Regions from separate parts of the Homo sapiens genome. Here region 2 is linked to region 1. The links are contacts of gene promoters, found by promoter capture Hi-C in human tissues and cell types (Jung and others, 2019). All regions are on one chromosome and are shown on one strand. Each heading gives the region's core, a stretch centred on a gene start or on the middle of the fragment in contact. The rest is flanking DNA. Distances are from core to core; before and after follow the strand shown. Region 1 holds the start of PIEZO2 (piezo type mechanosensitive ion channel component 2). Region 2 has its middle 70 kb from the start of PIEZO2.

What was found. The method cuts DNA at HindIII sites, captures the fragments that hold promoters and counts their contacts. A contact is called where the count stands out against the background at its distance.
Region 2: a contact is called between a fragment that was not itself captured here and the fragment with the promoter of PIEZO2 in region 1, in 2 of the 25 tissues and cell types used here (aorta and lymphoblastoid cells).

What each region holds. Positions count from the first base shown.
Region 1 is chr18:11,147,056-11,152,383 of GRCh38, forward strand. It overlaps PIEZO2 (piezo type mechanosensitive ion channel component 2), which reads right to left and starts at 2,514. Exons shown (of 56, transcript NM_001378183.1): 1 at 1,470-2,514. The coding sequence starts at 1,533. It overlaps LOC124904249 (a long non-coding RNA gene), which reads right to left and starts at 1,461. Exons shown (of 2, transcript XR_007066288.1): 1 at 1-1,461. RefSeq lists enhancers at 1,007-1,056, 1,085-1,923 and silencers at 1,617-1,686, 1,697-1,876, 1,897-2,176, 2,417-2,866. The HindIII fragment of the contact is 6,242 bases long and covers 1-5,328 here.
Region 2 is chr18:11,216,660-11,221,987 of GRCh38, forward strand. No RefSeq gene overlaps it. Among named protein-coding and RNA genes, the nearest start is that of PIEZO2, 70 kb to the left of the region's middle. The HindIII fragment of the contact is 4,419 bases long and covers 855-5,273 here.

The DNA of each region.
Region 1 (5,328 bases), core at 1,264-3,763:
GCTTAGGATACAGAGATGATCCCTGAGCAGTGACACCCTCTGTGTGTAAGGCACCTGAAGAATCCCTTTCCCAAATCGCTTTTCAAGCTGGCGGGGAGAGAGGTGCATATCCGCTCTGTGGAAGCTTAGCTCTTCATCTATGCGAGTGAGACTAGACCCCTGCAAAATGGAAACTCAAACTGCAAAGTAGAGAACGAGGCCAGCATCCACCCGTGGGTCCCTCCTGCTGCCCCGGGACCCCGCCTGGCCACACCTTCCCTCCACTCGGAGCGCCTTTCTGGGTTTTCCGCTGAGGTTTGTTGAAAAGACGCCTCCCAGACTCTTCACTCACGAAGTGTGTTACAAAAACTCTCCCGGCAACTGTCCTGACCCTCACCAATCACGCTACAGCCCCCATTCGATTGCTTGCACAAAGAAAACATTTAACACAGGTGTGATCAACCTCGGTCAAGATGCAGAGTCATCAACCTCGGTCAAGATGCAAAAAGGTGGCCTTTTCTGCGAAGGCCACGCCCTCTGTAAATACAGTTACTACTTGGTGAAAAGCGCTCTACTTCCTAGCTCTTGTTGGTGAGAGGGAGAGCAAAGAACCAGGGCCCGGCATTCTTACGAGAGGAATTCAATGTCACAGGCACTGCCTGTTTGAGGAGAAGATCAGAAACGGTCCGACTCCCAGAACGCAGCACCCAGTTGCTTTGCACGCCAGGCCAGTCCTGGGGAAACGGTGCAACGCTTGTCTGGGCGTCGAGGAGGCTCCCTTGCGGTCCTCCCTGGGCCCTTGCCAGTCCCAAGGAGTTCCAACCCTGCTTTCTAACCCTTTAAAATCTGGAGAGGGCGGCCGCTGGGAGGCGGGACTAGGTGTTGGGGGTCTATAGCCTTAGCATCCAGTACTTTTGTAGTAGGGGCTTTTGTGGAGGTTTTAAAAAATAAGTAAGAAACGTCAAGGCACTGTCTCCCTGTACCTCGTCCCTCTTTTTCTTTTTTGAATGACCGGAGTCCTTCACTTCTTCCTTCACGGTTGCTGGGATTTGGGGTCTGGGAGAGATGGCCTCTGGGCCGTCTGGAGGCACAGCATGCTGTGCTTGCAGGGTCACTGGGGCGAGGGGCTCAGGTAGGAGCCTGACTGTACCTACGATGGGGACGCATCCGCCTTCCAGCCACAGCAATGGCCATCCTTAGTACACAAGTCAGTACTCCACGAAAGAAAATCCACGTGTAACTAAATTCAACATAAACAGTTTCCAGCACATGCCCGTCCCGAGCATCCTGTTAAGAGATACCCCGATCGCGCGCCCCAGAGTGGGAAGTGAGAGAGCCAGGCTGTGCACCAGGGACAGCGCGCGTCTGACGCCGCTGGCCTCCCGAATCGAACCCCAGAGCACCAGAGCCCTTCACTTTGTTAAGAAGTCCCCCACCCAGGCGCCCCCCTCGTCCTCCTCAAGTGCCCTCGGAAAGCGGACCAGACTCACCTACTGCCAGGCAGATGGGCAGCAGCAGCCTGAAGATGAGCCCGCACACCACTTCTGAGGCCATCGCGTCGGTCCGGCGAGTCGGAGCAGAGGGGCGAGGCTCGAGGGTCCCTAGGGGTGGTGGGACGCAAGGCCCATGCCCGTCTATGGCCTCTCGCCGCCGGCAGCTCGCAGCCACCCGAGCATCGCCTCGGCGCGGGCCGCGACGCTCTCCGCCCCGAGGGCACGCTCCCGGGGCTCTTGGCCGCCCCTCGCCCACCGGGCTCTGGGTAGCCCCTCACCAGGCTCTTGGCGGCCACCTAGCCCGGCGCCCGGCCCCCTGCGGCCGGCCCATTTAGTGTGAATCCTGGATCCGGCAGCGGCGGCGGCTTCTTCAGGGGTAGCTGATGCCGGGGCCTTGGAGAGGGACGCTTTGGGAGGGTCCTGGGAGGCGGCGCGGCGAGCAAAGGGGGCAAGAAGGGCGTGCTGTGCTCCCGCCTGGCTCCCGGGGCGTCGTTTGGGGGCGGCCGGGGAGTTTTCTACTTGGAAGCCCCTCTGAAGCCACCGCGTCTCCTTTGCCCGGCCTCGTCTCCGCTGCCCACGCAGGCTGCCGCGCTCTGGCCTCGGCCCCGGCTCTCGGAGCTGCCCGGCGGGCTCCGGGTCTCGCCCTCCAGCCCCCAGGCGGCCCGCGGCGGATCCCCGAGAGGCAGCGCAGCTCAGCCCCTGCGCCCCCCAGCTTCGGGCCGGAGAGACCGGGGTGGGAGCTGCCAGGCGCGCAGAACCATCCCCGCCACCACGGGGCTCGCCTTGTGGGTCCGGTGCGCGGGCGGCGCTGCGAGTCCCTCCCTCACTCGAAGGAACGGCGCGAGCGTGGGGAGAAATGGAGACCAGAGCGCATATCGGGTGAGTGGGTCTCCCACTCCCTCCTCCACCGCCTCAATTTAAAACTCAAGAGAAAAACCAGCGCCGTCCCGTCGCCCAGCGCGACCACCGCCTGCCGCCTTGCAGCCTCGCCCTCGCGGCGCAGCCGGGGCTCCCCGGCGGCGCGCGCTTCTCCACCTTCAATGAAACTTTCGAAGCCCTCACTCGGGGACGGGCGTGTCCCCCGGCCAATGGGATGGCGGCTCCGGGGCCTGCGCGCGCGGAGCCCGCCCCTGAGCGGCTGGGGAAGTGAGAGCCTTGCACCGGCGCGGAGGGCAAGCCCCCACCCGCGGCTCCCGCGCCTGGGAGAGACCCGGCCTGGCCTGCCAGTGGGCTGCGCGCCTTGGCTCGCCCTCCGCGGGCACTCCTGCCCCACTGGCTCCCGCAGCCCCGCGGCTCTGCGTGGTTCTGTCATTCCGGTGGTGCACCCTGGCATCCAGTCCACCCGGCCGGGCCCTGAGCTTGCCCAAACCCAGGGAACCGTTTAAGGTCCGAGGGAAACGCACAGGCCCGGCAGGAGAGAAGCCAGGGGCTTGGAGAGTCCTGTGCGACCCCGACTTCTGCTGGGTCCACAGGTGCACACTGGCATTAAGAAGAATAGAGCTGAATTCATCTACACCGTTGACCCTGCCCATATTTCACATAGCAAGAACTTGCCATTCTGAATAGACTCTGGGAAATCCCGGGTCTTCCCCAACAGATAATGCACCCACTTTGTGCATTTGGGGGAACTCTCCGTTTTCACCTCAGTTTTGCTCCTTGCTTGTCGTGGCTCTGGGGAAAGAGAGCGTTGGCACTGAGAATATTCTCCCTTTCTCCTAGTGCACTGCTTTTTGCCTGTTCTAGGCAAGATCTAGAGAAATCTGGCTCTAGCTGGGAGACTGCAGTGTGCCTGGGTCTTTTATTTAACTGTTATCCGAGAGTGGAGGAGATTTGCTAGAGCACAGTAGGGGTCTTTCCGGACATGGAGGAAGAGGCTGTTAGCATCTGTAGAGAGGACTGTTCAGGACTGGCATTCCATCAGGAGGACACACTGGGAAGGACCTGGCTTCCCTTCCGCACCTACATTCCTGGCTTGCATTAGTTGGAGGGGATAGAGCAGTGAGCTGATGAAAAACAGGCAAACCCCCGTCTTTTTAGCCATTTGAAACGCTTTTGTGGACATCCCTTTTTTGAGACAGGGTAAGCTTGTGGTTTGAGCTCAGGTGCCTTCACGAATTCTCTGAGAATTACAGAAAAACTATGAACCATTGCTTTTTGAATGAAGACTCAAGACAGTTGGCATATGGTGAAGACACCCTGAAACTTAAACCACCCATGTGCTCTGCCATCCTCAAGAAGCTTAGATAGCACCTAAACCCGGGCGTAGTCATGAGCTCAACAGCAGACCTACAGGAGACGATAGAACTTAAATTAGCATCCAGTCACCAAGAAATGCTATCAAGAAATGGTTTGTGTAGCCTGTTTGTAGAAGCCTGATATAAATCTACCACTAATTTTGATGTTCATAAGTCTGCCTTCACATCCATGCCCTCCCCACCTCACCCCATGTACGACTCATTCTTGGGAGCTAATAGGTGAAGGACTCCTGAATTTTAAATAATACTGTGTCATCACATGAATTCTGTATTCTCTGAATACTTTCTTATGTTCTTGATAGGCTTCCCATACTAACAACTGTCTAGACTTTTTCACAATAATTCTCTTTCAAAATAACATAAGCTGGGAGGCACAAGATTCCCAGCAGGTGGGTGGTCTTACCAAATAAACTTCGAGCTTTCTCTGCCACAGTGTGTACCAACTTGGCTGCTGGGGCGTTAGAGATTTTAACAACTACATCCCAGTTCTGAGACTTCCAACGTATGTACTCAAGGGGAAGTTTCAGCGGTCTAGACTACATCTGAAATAGGCTTCTCCATGCTGGCTACATGTTGCAGTCACCTGGGGAGCTTTTGAAAAACGCTCAGTCTCCACACTCCCTGAAATCCTGATTTAATTGGTCTGCGATGGGGCCCCCACACCTGTATTTTTCTTAAAGCTCTCAAGTGATTCTTAAGTATGCAGTCAGGGGTGAAGACCGCTGTCCTCATTTTCATATCAGACTCAGAAAATAGTCCATTGGCTTTCAAAACCAGCATCTCCAAACCTCATCCACCTTTCTGAAGCTGTATTTTCTTTCACAATGGACTTGACTTGAGCATACATATCCATAGCAGTGGCATTGTTTTTACAAGGGCTGTTTAACCCTCAATTTTCCCTGCTCTCATAGAAGCAGTATCTGGTGTCTAGACAGGTTAGTTTTTAAGGACTCACCAGCCCATGAGGGTATTGATCACTGTTCGGGAGCTCTGCTTGCCTGGCAAACTTTATTCCAAAGTTTGCCAGAATCTTGTCTAAAATTTGAAAGAGTATGTGAGTTTAAAAATGCTTTGGGGAGAAATCAAACATGTAAAATACTCATGGACATATTATTTTGATATTTCATGGGTACCTGATGTGTATAATCACCAGTTTACCCCGGTAATGAATTAAGCACCAGACACCCTATGCCTCTCTGCATCCACAATGACAAACAATGACTTCTTTTGATCATTATTGAGACTTTTAGTGCCTCAGCTTCTTCATCTGTAAGTTAAGGAAAGCAGTAAAACCTACCCAATATGGAGTCTACACAGATAGAGACAGTTTATAGAGTTCTTAGAGAAATGCCTGGTGCATAGTAATCATTCAATGAATATTGGCTGCTATTATTCCTATTATTGTTGTTATTATTGTTGTTGAAAAACAAGAACTAATTCTACATTTATCAAACAATTATGCTAAAGCACAGTGACCTGCAGTGAGACAGACAGCAATATGTTTATGCTCCCAGCAATATGTTTAAGAACTGATCAACATTTTCTTAAGTGTTCAAGGTTTTCTCCATAGTGTGTCATTTTTTGCCTTGTGTGCATTTCAT
Region 2 (5,328 bases), core at 1,814-4,313, 70 kb after region 1:
TTCGTTATTTGTACACTAGTAAATGTATGCTGCTTTTTGCATTCTTTCTTTTACAGAAGAGAGATTTTAAAAAGAAAAATATGTCCCAATGAGTGTATCAGCTTCTTGATTTTGCCAAGAAACCTTATTTCTGTCCAACACAGAGAGAAAATAGTGCACAAAAAGAGAGTAGTAGTGAGAATATGATAGATAATGCACAAAAGATGGGATCAGAATACATAAGGGAAATCTACAATTTAATCTTAAAATAAAGATCAATAACCTGGTAGTAATATGGGCTATGTTTATGAAGAGGAAGACCACTTAAGAAGCAATATAAATAATCAATAAACAAAATAGCATATGTTGAACTCACCAGTCAATAAAAAAATGTCCACTAAACTAAGAAGGTTCTATTTTTTTTTCACCTATCAGATTGAAAAACTTAAAACTTTGATACTTTGATACAAGTAAGGATGTGGAGACACTTGTAGCATTGATATATTGTTCGTGGGAGTGTAATTGGGCACAGACCTCCAGGGAGTTTGCAGTCTCTGTTTACATTAAAACAGCCACACCCTCCAATCCAGAAATTTCTCTTGCCAGTATCTATTTCATAGGAATGCTCACACATGCACAAAACATACATGTAAAGGGTATGTCACAACATTGCTCATAAGAGTGAGAAATTGAAAACAAAATAGCAAAATAAAAACAGCAGTGAGGTAGGTGATAAGCTGTGATGTATGCATATTATGGAAGACCAGGAGCAGATAAATATAAGAAAGTGCACCTTTATGACGTCTGTTGGGGGGGGGATTATTTATCGAATAAAAAATTAAGAGAATGTGATTTTTTTTTTTTTTTTTTTTTTTTTGAGACGGAGTCTCGCTCTGTCGCCCAGGCTGGAGTGCAGTGGCGGGATCTCGGCTCACTGCAAGCTCTGCCTCCCGGGTTCACGCCATTCTCCTGCCTCAGCCTCCCAAGTAGCTGGGACTACAGGCGCCTGCCACCACGCCTGGTTAATTTTTTGTATTTTTAGTAGAGACGGGGTTTCACCGTTTTAGCCGGGATGGTCTCGATCTCCTGACCTCGTGATCCGCCCGCCTCGGCCTCCCAAAGTGCTGGGATTACAGGCGAGAATGTGATTTATAACTTGAGGATAATAAGTTTATAAACACAAATTGATACTGAATCTTTCCCGAGGGGGCACCTCTGCTTGTAAAAGGATGTAGAAGGTGCAGCAGGATTTCACGGTCACTTCTGATGAGTGGGCAGAGGGCTGCAACTTGAGGTTCTGAAAAGGAATATGAGTCTTGTCTTTAATGCTGAAACCTTGCATCAAAGTGAATTGTATTCACATGTTACATGGGTAAAGAAACTATTAATAATTCAAAAACAATATTGATTATAAGCACTATCTGGTACATATACAAATATCTGAAAGGATGAAATGATTCTGATTTGTTGAATGCAACTTTGTAGAGCCTTATTCTGTTTTCTGACTTTGATGTTTTGTTTTTCTAATTATTTTGAAGTAATTGGATACTTTCAAATGTACTATCTCATTGGTTATTTCCAATTTGTGAGGTAGTGAAAGGCAGGAGGGGTGGGGAGATGATGTAACTGTATTGGAAACTGATTGGATGATGGCACTGACGTACACAGGAGAGTACAGAGTGATCCAAGGTTTCAAGTGTGGATGCCTGGAAGAAAACAGGGTTTTGGGGGTGAGTCAGGAAGAGGTGTAGGTCTGGGTAAGAAAGTGAGGGGTTGAATTATGTACACTGGTCTTTTGCCACCCATGTGACCTTGGAAAGCAGATCTCCCTATTTCTTTGCCCATGGCTCACAATTGGCAGAATCTAAATTAGAACTGAGGTCTTCTGGGGTCAGGTTCACCATATCACTCTTGCTTCTTGTGTCTGTGACTGACAAACTCAATATAATCCTCTTCAAATCATCTGTTTTGGATTAGCCCCACGTGGTTACATGCCGAAGATGCATTCACCTGGGCCAGATGTGCCTCACTCATCTTAGACTTACACAGTGCACTATATTCTTGCTACCATCCAGCACTCTCAGCCTCTCCAGGTCCAAACACATCCCTGAGGTCTGTGCTGGGGAACGGGGAGAAAGATCAATTACCCAACATCTTGCCAACCATATCACAGGCCCTTAGACTAGATCATCCTGTGATCAACAAACTGGGTTATTCAGTTCAAAGGAAAAACATTCCACATTAAGATATGAATTAACAAAAAATGTTTTTCTAAATCCATGAAATAAGGAGTTGCCTTTTCAAACCTCTCATCAAATTCATAATACAATACAAATAAATACACATCAATGGGGAAAATCTCACCAAAGTCTTTTTCATTCTTATACATTTCTTTAGACTGTATTGACTGTATTTTCCCCCCACTCTCAAATTATAGTTTGACTTCATTAAGCAAAGCAGCAGAGTTTTTCCCTGGAAGAAATAAGAGACAAGGAATAGCAGGTAGCCTGCGTATTATGAAGTACTAAAGAGGAATCCATATCCCTTTGGCATTCTTGTGCTGTTTTCAGCTTCTCAAAGGAACAGAGGACAGACGTCTTGGAAGGACGGGGCCTCTGGGGACATGGCTGGGTGACCTCTTCTCTCAGCTGAATCTGATGTTGGCAGAGACTGAAAGACACTGTGCAAGTTAGTGATCCACGAAATCATGGCTAATCACATACGCAGTTATATATTTTTAAATGTATCATGAGAAATTCTTGTAAAAGTTTATGCAAATGTTAAATGAAAGAAAACCAGGAACATCCTTGGAAACCGTGGAGGCATCATGAGGAATATGATTCTGCTAAACAAGAAAGATTCAGGACCACTGTTCCCTTGCCACCCACGTGATCTTGAAAAGCAGTTCTCCCTATTTCTTTGTCCATAAACTAAGAGAACAAACTGCTTCATAAATTGTTCCCAGAATCAAATGAAATATTTGTACATAGATTAGTTCTTATTGTTGAGGAAAACTATTTTTAAAAGACAGCATTGTGGAATTTTTGAAATCTGCATTTAATTATCTCTAGAATTGTAAACAGAAAAACATTCTTCATTACATAATTACAGCTACACTTACTGGGAATAAACTCCAAGTTGGTATTTAAGAAGACACAATCAATCAATACACTGTCTCCATAGCCAAATCATTAGGTTGCTGACCTCTGTAGCTCAGACTCTTTTCCATTAAATAAACTAAGAAGCTAGCGTTCTGGGTAATGACTCAATTTTTGTTACATTTTTTTTTGAAATATTGTGAAGTCTTCCTTGGTACAACTTAGCTTTCTCTGATCAAACATAATCTTCACAGAAATGCTAACCCAGGCTCTGAAGTTAAACATCTGTATTTATTTTTAAGGTGTTTGTCCAGATTAAGTATATACCATTGAATTTAGATCATAATCAAAGCTTAAACAAAAATTAGAACATCCTCATGCAAATCTTTAAGAACCTGAGAATAAACCTTTGGATTAAGCTTTAGCATTTTAGGTAAAATCTTTTCTAGGTAAGGACTGAGACTGCACAGTGACCAAAACCTGTTGGAGAGGGGAATATCTCACTCCAATGAGGTGTTCATAGGTAAGAATCAGAGGCCTTGGAGAGCCGAGAGATGGTGTGTCATCCCTCCTTGTCTAGTCTCATGGACTGAGTTTAAATCTTTAGGAGGATCAGTTCTTTCCAGAAGATGCTTTCTGACATTGAACACAAGTAGAACTCCTTTGGCATCTAGGTGAAGAACTGGGCCAGAGTTTGAGATAGTGTCATTTTTACATTTCTGCATAGACCCCAATATGATCTTGCAATTCACAATAGGGGCTTGGGAGCATGAGTAGGCAAAACTCAAATGTTGGGGACTTTGGTATCCTCCAAAGAAGCAGCAGGCTCCTTTAAACAGCTTTGCAGGCAACAGGCAAGGACATAAGGAAGCATGTCAGTGATAATGAGCTGAAGAACACTCTGCTAGCTCATGTGAGACACAATCAGATACAAGACTCCTTTAAACAAGACCAGGCTTTAGGGGAATGGGCTGAGTCCTGTGACTAGGCCACATGCCAGGAGATGGGTGATTAAGAGCATTAGGATTTGTGACAATTGTGTAGAGACTAGAACTGGAATATAGCATATCAATTTTAGCTAGTTACCTACATAGATGGATGTGTGGAACCTCAAAGAGAAAAAGAAAAGAAAAAAATGTTGAAAATATAATAAAATAGCATTTGGTGCATCTGTTAATCTCTTACTTACCTATTTCCCAAGACTATTTAAATGTCCTTCTCTTTAAACACAGTCATGCATTACATAAGGACATTTCGGTCAATGACAGACAACATATACGAAAGGGATCCCACAAGAATGTAAGAGCATATTTTTACTTACATATTTTGCTTACAGTATTCAGTATAGTCATATGTTGTACAGGTTTGTTGCCTTGGACAGTAGGCTACACTGTGTAACCTGTGTGTAGTAAGTTCTGCCATCTGGGTTTGTAAAAACACACCCTATGATGTTGGCACAATGATGAAATTGCCTGATGTCACAGTTTTCAGAACACAGCCCTGTTGTTAAGCAATGCATGAGTGTACTTTTATTTTATTTTCCCCTTTTCACCAAAATTTAATAACTTTAGTTATCTTTACCATAACTCTCTCATGAACATTGATGTAAATAAAACTCAATAAAATTTTAACAAATCAAATTCAACAATGTATCTTTAAAAGGTACATACCAGCCAGGTGTGGTATGTGGTTCGTGCCTGTAAACCCAGCTACTTGGGAGGCCAAGGCAGGAGAACTGCTTGAAGCTGGGAGGCAGAGGTTGCAGTGGGCAGCAATTGCGCCACTGCACTCCAGCCTAGGCAACAGAGCGAGACTCTGTCTGAAAAAATAAAACAAAATAAAATGTACGTACCACAACCAAGTGAGATTTATTCCAAGTACGTAAGTCTGGTTCAACATTTAAAAATCAATTAATATAATCTATTATAGCAAGAAGATAACTGATGCAGAAAAAAATATTTGACAAAATCCAACCCCCTTTAACGATAAAAACTCTCAGAAAACTAGGAGTAGAGGGTAGCTTCCTCAACTTGAAAAAGAATGTCTGCCAAAAAATCTACAGCTAAAATCATACTTAATGTCAAGCAACCAAATGCTTTCCTGAAAAGATCAGGAGCTAAGCTAGGATGACCCTTTCACCACACCTACTTAACATCATACTGGAAGCCCTCACTAGTGCAATAGTGACAAGAAAAGGTAATAAAAAGTAAGCAGATTGGGGAGGAAAAAATAAATTGCCTTTGTTCAAAGA